Regions from separate parts of the Homo sapiens genome. Here region 2 is linked to region 1. The links are contacts of gene promoters, found by promoter capture Hi-C in blood cells and fetal thymus (Javierre and others, 2016). All regions are on one chromosome and are shown on one strand. Each heading gives the region's core, a stretch centred on a gene start or on the middle of the fragment in contact. The rest is flanking DNA. Distances are from core to core; before and after follow the strand shown.

The links. The method cuts DNA at HindIII sites, captures the fragments that hold promoters and counts their contacts. A CHiCAGO score of 5 or more calls a contact.
Region 2: a contact is called between the fragment with the promoter of ZDHHC20 here and the fragment with the promoter of EEF1AKMT1 in region 1, in 7 of 17 cell types (monocytes, naive B cells, neutrophils and 4 more). The highest score is 10.9, in monocytes.

Annotation. Positions count from the first base shown.
Region 1 is chr13:20,771,200-20,777,710 of GRCh38, reverse strand. It overlaps EEF1AKMT1 (EEF1A lysine methyltransferase 1), which reads left to right and starts at 3,750. Exons shown (of 5, transcript NM_001318939.2): 1 at 3,750-3,790. It overlaps XPO4 (exportin 4), which reads left to right. Exons shown (of 23, transcript NM_022459.5): 23 at 1-382. RefSeq lists an enhancer at 4,176-4,395. The HindIII fragment of the contact is 12,884 bases long and covers 1-6,511 here.
Region 2 is chr13:21,456,502-21,463,012 of GRCh38, reverse strand. It overlaps ZDHHC20 (zDHHC palmitoyltransferase 20), which reads left to right and starts at 3,710. Exons shown (of 13, transcript NM_001330059.2): 1 at 3,710-3,959. The coding sequence starts at 3,842. LOC124903131 (a long non-coding RNA gene) reads right to left here and starts at 3,466. Exons shown (of 2, transcript XR_007063713.1): 1 at 2,834-3,466; 2 at 2,367-2,630. RefSeq lists a cis regulatory region at 3,469, an enhancer at 3,385-3,554 and a silencer at 3,418-3,797. The HindIII fragment of the contact is 7,258 bases long and covers 1,460-6,511 here.

The sequences.
Region 1 (6,511 bases), core at 2,501-5,000:
CACAGTAGTGAGCAGTTTTGTTCTTGTTTTGATAATGTTCATTTCTGCCTAATCTTAGGCTTCAAATACACCTTTAAGAAAGCCCAAGATGTATTGAGTAGTAGAACTTCTTATTTGTACACCTGTTTATAACTGCACTGCCCTGGATGTTATGGTTATTTCTAAGGACTGACCTGGTAAAGCTACTTGAACTGGTAGACTGCAGGGTAGAGGCAGACCTAGATTCAATGTCTAACTAAGCTGCTTAGGGCTTACATTAATTTCCACAGGTCTGTTATCCATATCATGAGTTTATAAGTGTTCCTCCCAAAGAAAAAATTTAAAAGTGATGGATGAAATATAATAGTAGATGCTCAATAAATTCCATTGTATTTAAAGATTATTTCTGAAAACAGATTTCATTTCATTAGACAAATGTATCATAACACTAAGTCTGATACCTAATAGTCAATTGCTTTTAAATACATGCTGTAATATCTTCATATTGATACTACGTTATAGCCCTAACCACAACCACCCTAGGGATATTGGGGTAGACTTCACCATATTATTTACTGTACTTTTTTTTAAAAAATGAGAAAATGGATCTATTTATGTTAACTATCTTAGTCTGTTCTATTTAATTCAACTATCTTACTCTGTGCTATTAGAATACCTGAGACTGAAGAACAGAAACTTACTTCTTTCATTTCTGGAGGCTGCCCTTTGACTTCCATCATGTGGAAGAGGCAAGCAAGCCATCACCAGATGGTGGCGAGAGAGAATCAACTCCCTCCTTCAAGCCCCTTTGTAATGGGACCTAATTTTATTCATTAGGGAGGAACTCTCTTGGCCTAATCACCTCTTAAAGGCCCCACCTCTTCATACTGGCACATTGGCAACAATTGAATTTTGCAAGGGAGCTATTCAAACCACAGCAACAAGGATTTTATTTTCTGCTGAATAGGCACCTATTATTTCTACAACAATGAAAAAATCCTGGCCGGGCGCGCGGTGGCTGACGCCTGTAATCCCAGCACTTTGGGAGGCTGAGGCGGGCGGATCACGAGGTCAGGAGATCGAGACCACCCTAGCTAACACGGTGAAACCCTGTCTCTACTAAAAATACAAAAAAAAAAAACAAAAAGCTGGGCGTGGTGGCGGGCAGCTGTGGTCCCAGCTACTCGGGAGGCTGAGGCAGGAAAATGGCGTGAACCCGGGAGGCGGAGCTTGCAGTGAGCCGAGATCGCGCCACTGCACTCCAGCCTGGGCGACAGAGCGAGACTCCGTCTCAAAAAAAAAAAAAAAAAAAAATCCTAACGGTGATTCCCAAAGTGAGTTTAATTAGTAATTTTTTAAAATAATTGTTGTTAAATAGTTTTGATAAATAAAACAGGTTTCTTTAGTGCATTAAGTTGAAGGCTTTAATACATTAATGCCTATGGTGAAACTCAGAAGAAGAGTTTAATCAGATTTTCCTCATTTTACTTTATACAGTCTTTTCTCAAAGTACCTTACAGGACTAGAAATCTAAGGAATGTCCTTTGCAACATGCTTAGGATAATTCGAATAACTCTGTGATAAAGCACTCAATGGAAGAAAAACAAACACCTGAATCTGTTTTTGTACTTACAGGTAATTTGTTGTTGTTTTAAGAAAAACTGAGTCTAGTGTGGTTTGTTTTGTTTTGTTTTTTTGAGACAGAGGCTCCCTCTGTCACCCAGGCTGGAGTGCAATGGCGTGATCTTGACTCACTGCAACCTCCACCTCCCGGGTGTAAGCGATTCTCCTGCCTCAGCCTCCCAGGTAGCTGGGAATACAGGCGTGTGCCACCACACCGGGCTAATTTTTGTATTTTTAGTAGAGATGGAGTTCCGCCATGTTGACCAGGCTGGTCTCAAACTCCTGACCTCAGGTGATCTGCCCACCTTGGCCTCCCAAAGTACTGGCGTGAGCCCTGCACCTGGTCCCAAGTCTGGTTTACTTTCTTTTTTACACCATTTCTGAAGAGAAGCAAGACGAACAAAAATCACTGGTGAATACACAAAAGGAATAATTCCTGAATTGAAGACATCCTTCATATCCAATTTAACTGGACAAGTAATTTCCCCTTTAATGAGAATAAGTACTCCTTTGATATTTTACATGTTTATGATTTGCAAAAACCATTAAATTACAGTGCATAGGTTTCACCAGGAAAATATGAATCTTACTGTATTACTCTCATGCTGTCTGAGCAATCAGGTCTAGTGAAGGTACAAAAAACTCTGACATCTGTGGTCACTTTCATAGTAAAAATAGTATATAGTAAAATACATGAAGATAACATGTCTTACATGCTATTAAAGCAATGTCAGCTTTGAAAGAAAATGATCTACTGTTTCAGACTCAATTTGACTGAATGTAAACTTCTGTTAAAGTAGTTATAAGCTAGGGCAGTCTTATTTACTGAACACCACCTCCATAAAAAATGCACTCATAAAAGTTGGTTATTGTTTCTCAGTTTGTGTTAAATTTCTTTTAGTTTTTTAAATATATTTTCTTCCTGTTCCTTTTCCAGAATACACCTGATCTTGAAATATTTGGTTAATAGACTTGTCATCAATTCAAAACAAAGTCAAAATGTAGCATGGGTTATTATAAACTGGAAACAGTTCTTAAAATAGAAATTATAGTACACCCAATGTTATAAACCTGTTTCATTAACTACTTACTGAATAGCATCATTTGCCAGCTGAACAGTTTATATCCTTACCTTATACCAGAAAGGATTTTCACATTGCTCAGCAGAATATATAAAATTTAGCAAGATCATGAAATTGGTAAAGAAAATGGAGGAAAGAGAGGGTAGAAGCATAATACAGATTGATTTCTTGGGGAATTGGAAACAAATACTTTGTATCACTTATAATTTGGTAGCTGCTAAAACGTAAGGGAACCTTTCAATAATCAGTGCCTGTATGTGCAAGATAATTAAGGTGTTGTTGACAAAAATCATACATACTTACGGCGCTTGATGTCTAAATACATATATTGACCAACTCATTCAAAACTGAAGACTCTGAAAGACTAACAAGTTTTAAAGGTTCCCCCCCGCTACCGCCAATCCTGTCAATTTTACCAAAGCCTCAATTTGATGTCAACATTTAAAGTCAACGATTTGATTTAAAAAGACTGAGCAGACAATCGACCAATGAAGCCTTGACTTTGAAAATCTACGTGACTCAGTGCAAAATAGTGGGTTTAACTTTAATTAGGATCTTAATTTTTTTTTTTTTAGATGTTGCCTTGCTCTGTCGCCCAGGCTGGAGTAGCTGTGGTGCGATCTCGGCTCATTGTAGCCTCTGCCTCCCGGGTTCCAGCGAGTCTCCTGCCTCAGCCTCCTGGGTAGCTGGGATTACAGGCGCACGCGACCACGGCCAGCTAATTTTTGTATTTTTTAGTAGAGACGAGGTTTCACCATGTTGGTAAGGCTGGTCTCGAACTCCTGACCTCAGGTGATCCGCCCGCCTCGGCCTCCCAAAGTGTTGGGATTACAGGCGTGAGCCACCGCGCCCTGCCAGGGCCTTCATTTTTTTTGTTGTTGTTGTTTTTTTGCTACCATTCTTGGGGGCGGCTGATGAGACAAGCGAAGGAACGACTCCAGGCTGGAGACGGCCCTCAGTGTTGTAAACGCGGGATTGAGACGCTGCGGGGAGATGGCCTGCCTTGCGCAAGGGCCTGGGCGGGAGGGCCTGCGCCTGCGCTAGCGAGACTGGCTAGCCACTCCCACTGCACACGGCGAGTCTGGGCGACTGCGCACGCGCGGCTGGTGAGTGGCGGGTTCGGGCGCAGCTGTAGGGTTGGCTGCGCGCCGCCGAGGCGTTTTGGACTGGGTTAGGTGCCTTTTGTGTGTTTGTTTCTCACCTTTTTTCCAGGGTGGTAGTGGTGGAAGAGTTTAATTAGCAGTGGCTGGCGGATTCCTGAGGGAAGGAGCTGGCGCCGGCCTGAGAGTGGATCCTGGTTGCTGTGTTAGGCGCTGTTGGGCCTCGCGTCCCGGTCGCCGGAAGGCGCCGCGTCCTGTGCCGCGCACGTTGGCGCCCGGGCCTTAGGCAGCCTTGGTGCTGACGGGGAAATTAACCCCCAGGCTACGGCAGCGCGTGGAGGCCTCCCTTCCCTCCGAGTAGAAACAGGACTCGGCCTGCTGTCCTTTTCATCTTTGCCCTCAGAAGTTCGCTGATGGAGTTTGCGAAATGCCCAGGCCTGACTGTCCGCTCCTGGAGGGCGGGCACCCGCGGCGCCTGTCGCTGGGGCTTCTGAGGCAGGTCCCTTGCAGGATGCGGGTGCTGCGAGGTGGAGTAGACTAGGACGCGGGCGGCTTTACTGCGAAACGGGCAGTAGCTTCGGAGGTGCAGAAGAAGTGCTGGGACGATAGCGGGTCCCTACCGGGAGGGAGCCACATGTCAGACAGGAAGGCCTTCCTTATAGGGGTTGTGGTTACATGGGGCGTACATCACAACGTCGCACTGCACACGTACGACCTGCATTTCATTGTAAGCATTACCTCCTTTTTAAAGTTAATTTAAAAACAGGATAAATAGAATTCTGGAAAGCAAGAAGGAAGGAACTGTTTGAGGCAGGGGGACTCAAAGATGAAAACAGAATGAAAACCTTTGGCCCTTTTCTGGACGTAAATTGGATTAAGGGGAGAATCATCCAGCAATTTATAAAAAGTATTTGGAGAATATCTAGGCCTTACCCATTCATAGAGGGAGCCTTGCTCTCCTGCGGTTTACTGGAGTCTGGGATGGCTCCTAGGTTAATGCTCTTTGCTCTGAATCACACTATCTTAACCTAATTTCACACAAGAATGAATGTTGAAATTACAGTATGGTGGTTTTGCCCTAAGTAAATTTGATAACATGGAAATTGAGTAATTTTATCCAAAAAGAGACTAACCACAGCCCCTGAGAAGCCAGCTAATCCCTGCTTATGCTGCAAGCTAACGTGTCCGCCCCTTTGCTCATGCTGTTCCATCTTTCTGAAGTCTTCACTCTTCATCCTTACCTTTTCCTGAGGCCGAGTTGAAGCTCCACCTGCTCTTTCACTCCTCTCCCCACTCAGGCCCTCCACTCTGATCCCATGGCGTGAATGGTGCTTCTCTATAGAGGGCCTCCACCTTACCGTTGGTGTTCGCCATGTGTCTGCCTAACCTAGAATTTCTCAACTGCAGCTTGTAGGGCGGGATACTTCTTTAATGTGGAGGGCTGTCCTGTGAATTTTAAGTTCAGCAGCCTCTACCCACCTGATGCCAGTAGCACCCTCCTTCCCATTTACGGCAACCAAAAATGTCTCTAGGCATTGCCAGATGTTCCCCTTAGCGACAAAAGGGCTCCTCATTCTGTGAGAACTGCTGATTTAGAGTCTGAGCCACATAAGGTCCAAGGTCAGCTTAATAATAATATAATTTCAATATAATCCATAGGTACAAGTTTTAAAATCTAAAGAAAAAAATTTTTTTTACTGCCACTTGTGGGGCAGGGCCAGCCATAGACAGTGTGCCCAGAGTAGCCAGAAAAAATTTAAAAATAATAATAATATAACACAGTACTTCCCAGCTCTTTTGGATTTGAAAAATCTCATAAACCCCCTTAGAAATTTTAAAAACAATAAAGATATGATAAAATAGTGATTTAAAAAATAGTTAAAAATAGGTTCATTTAATTTAATTTTTTTTTTTTGAAATGTAGTCTCACTCCTGTCATTCAGGCTGGAGTGCAATGGCGAGATCTCAGCTGACTGCAACCTCCATCTCCTGGGTTCAAGCGATTCTCCTGTCTCAGCCTCCTGAGTAGCTGGCGCTATAGGTGCCTGCCACCACACCTGGGTAATTTTTGTATTTTTAGTAGAGACAGGGTTTCACCATGTTGGCCAGGCTGATCCCGAATTCTTTACCTAAGGTGATCTGCCCGCCTCGATCTCCCAAAGTGCTTGGATTACAGGCGTGAGCCACCACTCCCGGCCATTTCATTTAATCTTTGATGTTTATCTTGCTAACAGATTTCAGTTTTCCTCATTAGAAGAAGTGATGCACTTTTGAACTCACTTTAACAATGTAGGAAACTTCTACGATTCCTAAAATTGCAGCCCCCTATGCTCTCCATGTGTTCCTCCATTAATCTTATTGTCATCTAACATTTATTTCATATGTATTGTTTTAGTCTGTCTTTTCCTCTCTAGAATGTAAGCTCCAAGAGAATAAGGACTTTGAGACTCATCACCAAGAACAGTGCTTTCTACAGGGTAGAAAATGATTATCAAAGGAATGGATTTGGTACTCTTTATACTTTCATTTTGGGATCAAATTCTTATATAGATTGGAATTTAATTGCCTTTTACAGCTATGAAAGGCGACAATTTTATTAAATTGCTCTTTGGAATTCCTTGTTTTGCATTTATAGTCAACTGGTTCCTTTTTGGTTTTCATGTTTTATTTCTAAGTGATTAACAAGTTACAGGCTGTTATTTAAAAGCCCTTCTTCAGTGACGCAGC
Region 2 (6,511 bases), core at 2,461-4,960, 690 kb before region 1:
TATAAAATGTAATTCTGCTCACGTCACTACACTGCCTAAAGTCTTTAAATGATTCCCTGTTGTCAAAACCAGTAGCAAAGATGGAGTGAAATCACAAGCCCAACATGGAAATGGAAGGAAGGGGTTTAAGATACTGGCTTCTATTGCTCACAAGCAAAGAACATTAATTCATGTCTGTAACCATTTACGACAGAAAGAGTCCAAAATAATAAAAATATTGCCTCCTCAAAAATGTGTCTGTCCTCATTGTACAAGGACATAGATCAGAAATATTCTCTAGATCCCACATAAATCACCTTAGAATATGTGGCAGTCATTTAGAAATCAGAAACTGGTCGGGCACGGTGGCTCACAAAAAATACAAAAAATTAGCTGGGCGTGGTTGTGTGTGCCTGTAATCCCAGCTACTGGGGAGGCTGAGGCAGGAGAATCGCTTGAACCAGGGAGTCGGAGGTTGCAGGGAGCTGAGATTGCACCACTGCACTCCAGCCTGGCAACACAGCAAGACTCTGTCTCAAAAAAAAAAAAAAGAAAAAGAAAAAAAAGAAATCACAAGCTAATGTAATCTGGTTGGCAACGCCAGAAGTTAGGAGGAGTAACTGGATAACAATAGAAAACTTTAAATATTTGTTCAACAATTTCTTACTAAATATTTCCTACTGCAAGTCACTGTGGATGTGCAAGAAATACTTTCTACCTTCTAGAACCTTACAAGGTAGTAGGCAAGATCACATATTTCAATGAGTATCAAAACTATTGGCTGAGCGAGGTGGCTTAGGCCTGTAATCCCAGCACTTTGGAAGGCCGAGGCAGGCAAATCACTTGACTCCAAAAGTTTGAGACCAGCCTGGCCAACATGGGGAAACCCCATCTCTAGCAAAAATACAAAATGCAGGCCTCACGTGGTGGTGCACGCCTGTAATCCCAGCTACTCGGGAGGCTGAGGCATGAGAATCACTTGAAGCTGGGAGGTGGAGGTTGCAGTGAGCCAAGATCACGTGACCGCACTCCAACCTGGGTGACAGAGCAAGACTCTACTGAAAAAAAAAAAAAAAAGAATGTGGCCTTATTTGGAAGTGGGCCTGTTGTAGATGTAATTAGTTAAGATGAGGCCATACTAGAGTAGGGTAGGCCCTTAACCCAATATAAGGGGAGAGACAGGAAAGGAGAATGCCACCTGAGGATAGCGGTAGATATTGGGGTGATGCCACTGCCACTGCAGGTCAAGGGATGCCATGGACTAATGGTCACCACCAAAGGCTAGGAAGAAGCAAAGAAGAATTCTCCCCTACAAGTTTCAGAGGGCACATGGCTGTGTTAGGTCATTCTTGCACTGATATAAAGGAATACCTGAGACTGGGTAATTTATAAAGAAAAGTGGATTAATTGGCCCACAGCTCTCCAGGCTGTACAGAAAGTATGGGGTCAGCATATGCTTCTGGTGAGGCCTCAAGAAGCTTCCAATCATCAGTTGGAGACAACATTGGAGACAACAGCAACAGGAAGGTCCCTCTCACCTTCCTCTCGCTCTTCTCCCCTGAAGCAGGCCATAGCACTAGCAAAAGCGTCTCAGGCCTTCCCCTGAAGGCAGACCTAAGACTGTTATTCAAGAGGTGCCCTCCCTCTACCCAGACAAAGGAACATCCTTATCTCTGAAGACACAGGACCACAGAGATAGACTTCTGCCTTCTCGGCAGAAGGCAAAGGGGAGCCAGCATGTCACATGGCAAGAGAGGGGGCAAGAGAGAGAGTGGGGGAAGGATCAGGCTCTTTTAAATAACCAGATCTCATGTGAACTACTAGAGAAAGAACCCCTCATCCAAGGGGATGGCACTAAACCATTCATGAGGGATCCACCCTAATGATCCAATACCTCCCACCAGGTCCCACCTCCAACACTGGGATCACATTTCAACATGGGATTTGGAGGGGACAAACATCCAAACCATATCCAATATCCTTGCCAACACTTTGATTTGGGACACCTACCCTCCTAAACTGTGAGACAACCAATTTCTATTATTCCCCAGTTTTGTGGTACTTTGTTATAGTCACCCTAGGAAACGAATGTGACAGTTTTATAGTTAGGTTATAAACAAAATGTCGTGAAAGATCATTTCTAGCAGCCCTGGAGCTTGTAAAGGACATGGCTTTGTGCTGAGCTCTAGCAGCATGGTTTTGGTACGTAGAGATGACATAGAGGAGAAACGGCTTTATGTTCTTCCATGTCCATCCGAATTCTATGTTGAGGTCTAACCCTCCTAAGCAGCCTCTCTGGAAAACTAGTTGAACTTGAACCTAAACCTACTGTCAACTAGGCCACTAACTAATATGACTTTTAAGGCACAAAATCAGGGAGAACAGAATCTTTTATACATGCTTTATTACTCAAGCAGCAGTGTGCAGTGATTAAATACTTACTCGCTTTTACTACATTTCTCTGACACAGCAAAGGGTGACGTCTTCTTCATGGAGACTTTAGTGAGCAGTAGCTAATTTAAAGCTCAGTGTAGGCCGGTCGTGGTGGCTCACACCTGTAATCTCAGCACTTCTTTGGGAGGTGGAGGCGGAGAGGGGTTGGGATTCCTTGAGCCTTGGAGTTCAGGGCCAGCATGGCAACAGGGCGAAACCTAGTTTTTACAGAAAATACAAACATCAGCTGGGCATGGTGGCGGGCCTGTAGTCCCTGCTACTCTGCAGGCTGAAGCAGGAGGAGTGCTTTAGCAGGGAGGTCGAGGCTTAAATGAGCCCAGGTCGTGCCACTGCACTCCAGCTTGGGCGACAGAGCGAGAAGACCCTGTTTCAAAAAACAAACACAAAAATTCATTCTAACCAAAACTGAATGCTAGTAGCAGGAACTGGTATGAAGATTGCGGTCTGGAATCCCTTCTAATGCGTCTGACCTTGCATTGTGAAGTCTTCACAGTGATGCTTCTGGGTTCTATATGATTATCGTCATTGCTTAGCAACCTCTAGTTGTAAATAAATTCTTTAAATTTCCTTAGTCGTTTGCGGGGCAAGGAGAGGGTCATTTACATGCCCTTTCCTTCTCGCTACTCAATCTTAAATTTGGGTTACGAATCAAACTGATGGACCCTACATGGCTTCTACCCGAAATTACAGGTATCTACCGTTCCATCTTCAAGAAAGGGAGGGGTTCCGCCAAGATGGACGAACATAAAAATCACAGGAGGAGCCTTCTAACAATGTGCATTCTTCGCACACTGAGTGGGGAATGGCCTTGTCATGTTTGAAACAGTGCCCCAACTACTCAATGTCCCAGGAACCCCAGTGGAGCGAGTTCTGTACACAGAGAGGGCCAAGATCCACAAATCAGCTAAGGAATCATTTCCATAGTCTCCCTCCCCTATTGAGTCTCGATCCACAAAAGCTATCCCCTGTCCCTCTCATCCATCAAGGGCGTGTTTTTCGCCTCTCCTTCCCCGGCCTCCCGCGTCCGCCCAGCCTGTCCGCATCCAGCCCCGCCACGCCCCATGGGCGGTCCCGAGCTGCGGCCCCGCCCCCTCACCGCCTCCCCGGCCGCGGAAACCCCGCCCCAACGACGCGGAGACCGGGGGCGGCCCGCGGCCCGCGGCGGGCGGGCTGGCGGGGACGGACGCGGGGGGAGGGGGGCGACGGGATGTGGGGTGGGGGCGGGGCCTGGCTGGGCGCCGGGACGGGAGGAGTCCCGGCGGCGCCTCGGACTTTTGCTCCCACAAGTCCTGCCTCGGAGGCGGGGGAGCTGGACCAGCAGCCGCCTGGAGCGTCCGAGTCACCGTCGCCGGGGCTCCCGCGCTCCCCAGAACGGTGGGACGCGGGGCTCGGCAGCCGCCAGCGGAACATGGCGCCCTGGACGCTGTGGCGCTGCTGCCAGCGCGTCGTGGGCTGGGTGCCGGTGCTCTTCATCACCTTCGTGGTCGTCTGGTCCTACTACGCGTACGTGGTGGAGCTCTGCGTGTGTGAGTACCGTCCCCGGGGACTGCGGCGGGGCGCGGGCCGCGGCTAGGGCGCGAGATAGGCCTCTGCGCCCCACACCCGCCGCCTTTCTGGAGCCAGCGCCGGACGCCGGGCGTCCGGCCCCGAACGCGCTCGGAAGCGCCGAGGTTGCTGCACCCGCCGCTTTGTTCAATCCTGCGGCGCGGCCTTGGGGCGACCTGGGGCTCCTGAAGCCTTGCGGCGGCTTCCCGGGTGCAGGTCTGGCCCAGGGAGGCCCCAAGAGCTTCCTGGTTCCCGCCGACACCGGGGGTCTGCATCCTTCTGGGAAGGAACGTGCAGAACGGGAGTAGTCGAGCTTCTTAGAAGGTTTAGGTTGTGTTTGTGGCTTTTTTGGCTTTTGTTCATTTTTTTTAAAAAACCAAATCTGTTCCTTCTGGATTGTTTTTGTTCAAACTGCGCGAGAAGAAACGCCTGTTACCTGTAGAGCCGGCTGTGGCGGGTTGGGGGAAGGGAGGTGTGTCTTTTGGTGGCCTCGGGCTGGAGGCGGGTCAGACCTGGAGGACGAGTAAGCTCCCACTTTTGATTTTTGGTGGTACTCGACTCATTGTAAAATTCGTTTATTTCTACTCTGAATCCAGCCGGCTTTTGCAGAAGGTTAAGACAGAAAGAATGGGTGGGAGGAGACATAACCTGATTATTTTTTTCTTGGCTGATTATTAAGGAGGCTTATATTTCTTATACTCATATTTTGGCGTGTTAATTTTCGTTACTTCCATTTTCCTGATAAGTTCTTAGCACAAAATTCTCATCTGATTCCCTGGAAAAAAGGAGTAGCATTGCAGTATACTTCAAGGATTTAACCTACTGGCTTGAATTGGTTGCCTTTAAGATTGAAGGAAATTGGTTGTCATTAATCAAAAACACTGTTTAGGGGTGACTGCTACATTTGTGATATTGGGCAATTTCTCCAACATTGTTTTGTCTTAAGTAAATTGTTCTTAGGCTTTGAGTATGTGGGTATTTTACACTTAAACTGGCCTCAACTAGGGTGTTCTGTATACATCTGCTGCCTATATCAATTTTTTATGAAAACCTAGGACCAAATGGTAAGTGGTGTTTGTAAACGTTATTGTTATTCCAGAATGTTCTACTCTTAGTCCTTAGACTGAATCTACCATTTTATGAAGGACTGTTAAGTGTTCTTTGAATAACGAACCACATCAGCTAGAAACTAATGTTATGAATGAGAAGAATCTGTACCACCCACTCTTGAAAGTGGCAGAATCAAGACTTCAATTATGTTTGGATTTGTACAGCTTTCAACCAAGTATTTGGTTAAAACCCTAGTTCTATACATGGAAGAGAATGCTTTGGCTCAGAAAATTTATAAGTTTTGAAATTAAAACATCCAGTTTTAAAATTACTTTGTACCTATAGAACGTTTAATTTTGGGACGACTATCCCTGCAGGTAGGCCCAGAATAAATTAGTTGTGGAATACATTTCCAAATAATATTAATCTTTTCAATATCATTGTTTAGTCTCATGCTTTTGGATACCAGAATGTTTACTAAAAATGATGTTTGAGTCAATTAAAATTACTAGATTTTAATATTTCTGGGAGCTACTTCCAGAAAGTGGTAGTGATCATAGGATTCTCATCAACTTATGATGATACCTCCTTTATCTTCTTATTTACTCTGAAGTGGGCATTTATTCTAAAAGTTATGTCATTCCTATTCTGTCAGAAGATTATTCCTACCGTATTTTAATTCCCGTAGTGGTTTTGAAGTAAAGCTGAAGGAACACTAAAAATGTGCATTTATGTTGAGATTCCACAGCTTAACCTGTAGATGGTTTTTGTCAAAAATATTAAGAAATGAGATCAAACAGTGCTGTGAAAAGTCTTAAATTGCTTCTGATTTCTTTCACCACTTCAAATAAAGAAGGAGAAATGAACATGAATTGAGAAGTGCCATGTGCTAGTGGGCATAGAGGGGACATTTCATTCACCCTCTCCTTTAATTCTTTCAGTATGTCACAGCATAGGTATCTCTACAGGTGGAGGACGTGAGACTGAGCGAATAGGTCCTTTTGGTTAGGTCACACAATTGATTATTGGAATGTGACCCACATCTTTCCGTTCTTTCATATAACTTCAGTAAGCTATGAGGGTCAATGGAACTGTAATTGTTTGGTCCATAATGGTGTGGGGGGATAAAGGGGTTGGCATATTTTTGGAGATCACTTAGTTAGGCTTGAGGCCCATTCTGTAGAGATTATACCCTACAATTTCATTAAGTTAAAACATTCTATAACTATGGCCTGATGCTTGGCAGAATCTTAAAATATTTGGTGGTGAAAGGTCTTATGTAGAGGCTGTATTAACTTCTGAGTTATCTCATTTTAACTAGAGAGAATTTGGGAGGTCTGCAGTGTCACTGGAGTATAAAATAGTTGAGCATAAAAGTGCATTTACTCATATTAAAACTATCCTTTAAACTACTTGTATGTATTTGTTTTCATAAGTACTGACCCTCCCACTGAAATATGTATAGATATATTACTTTATAGGA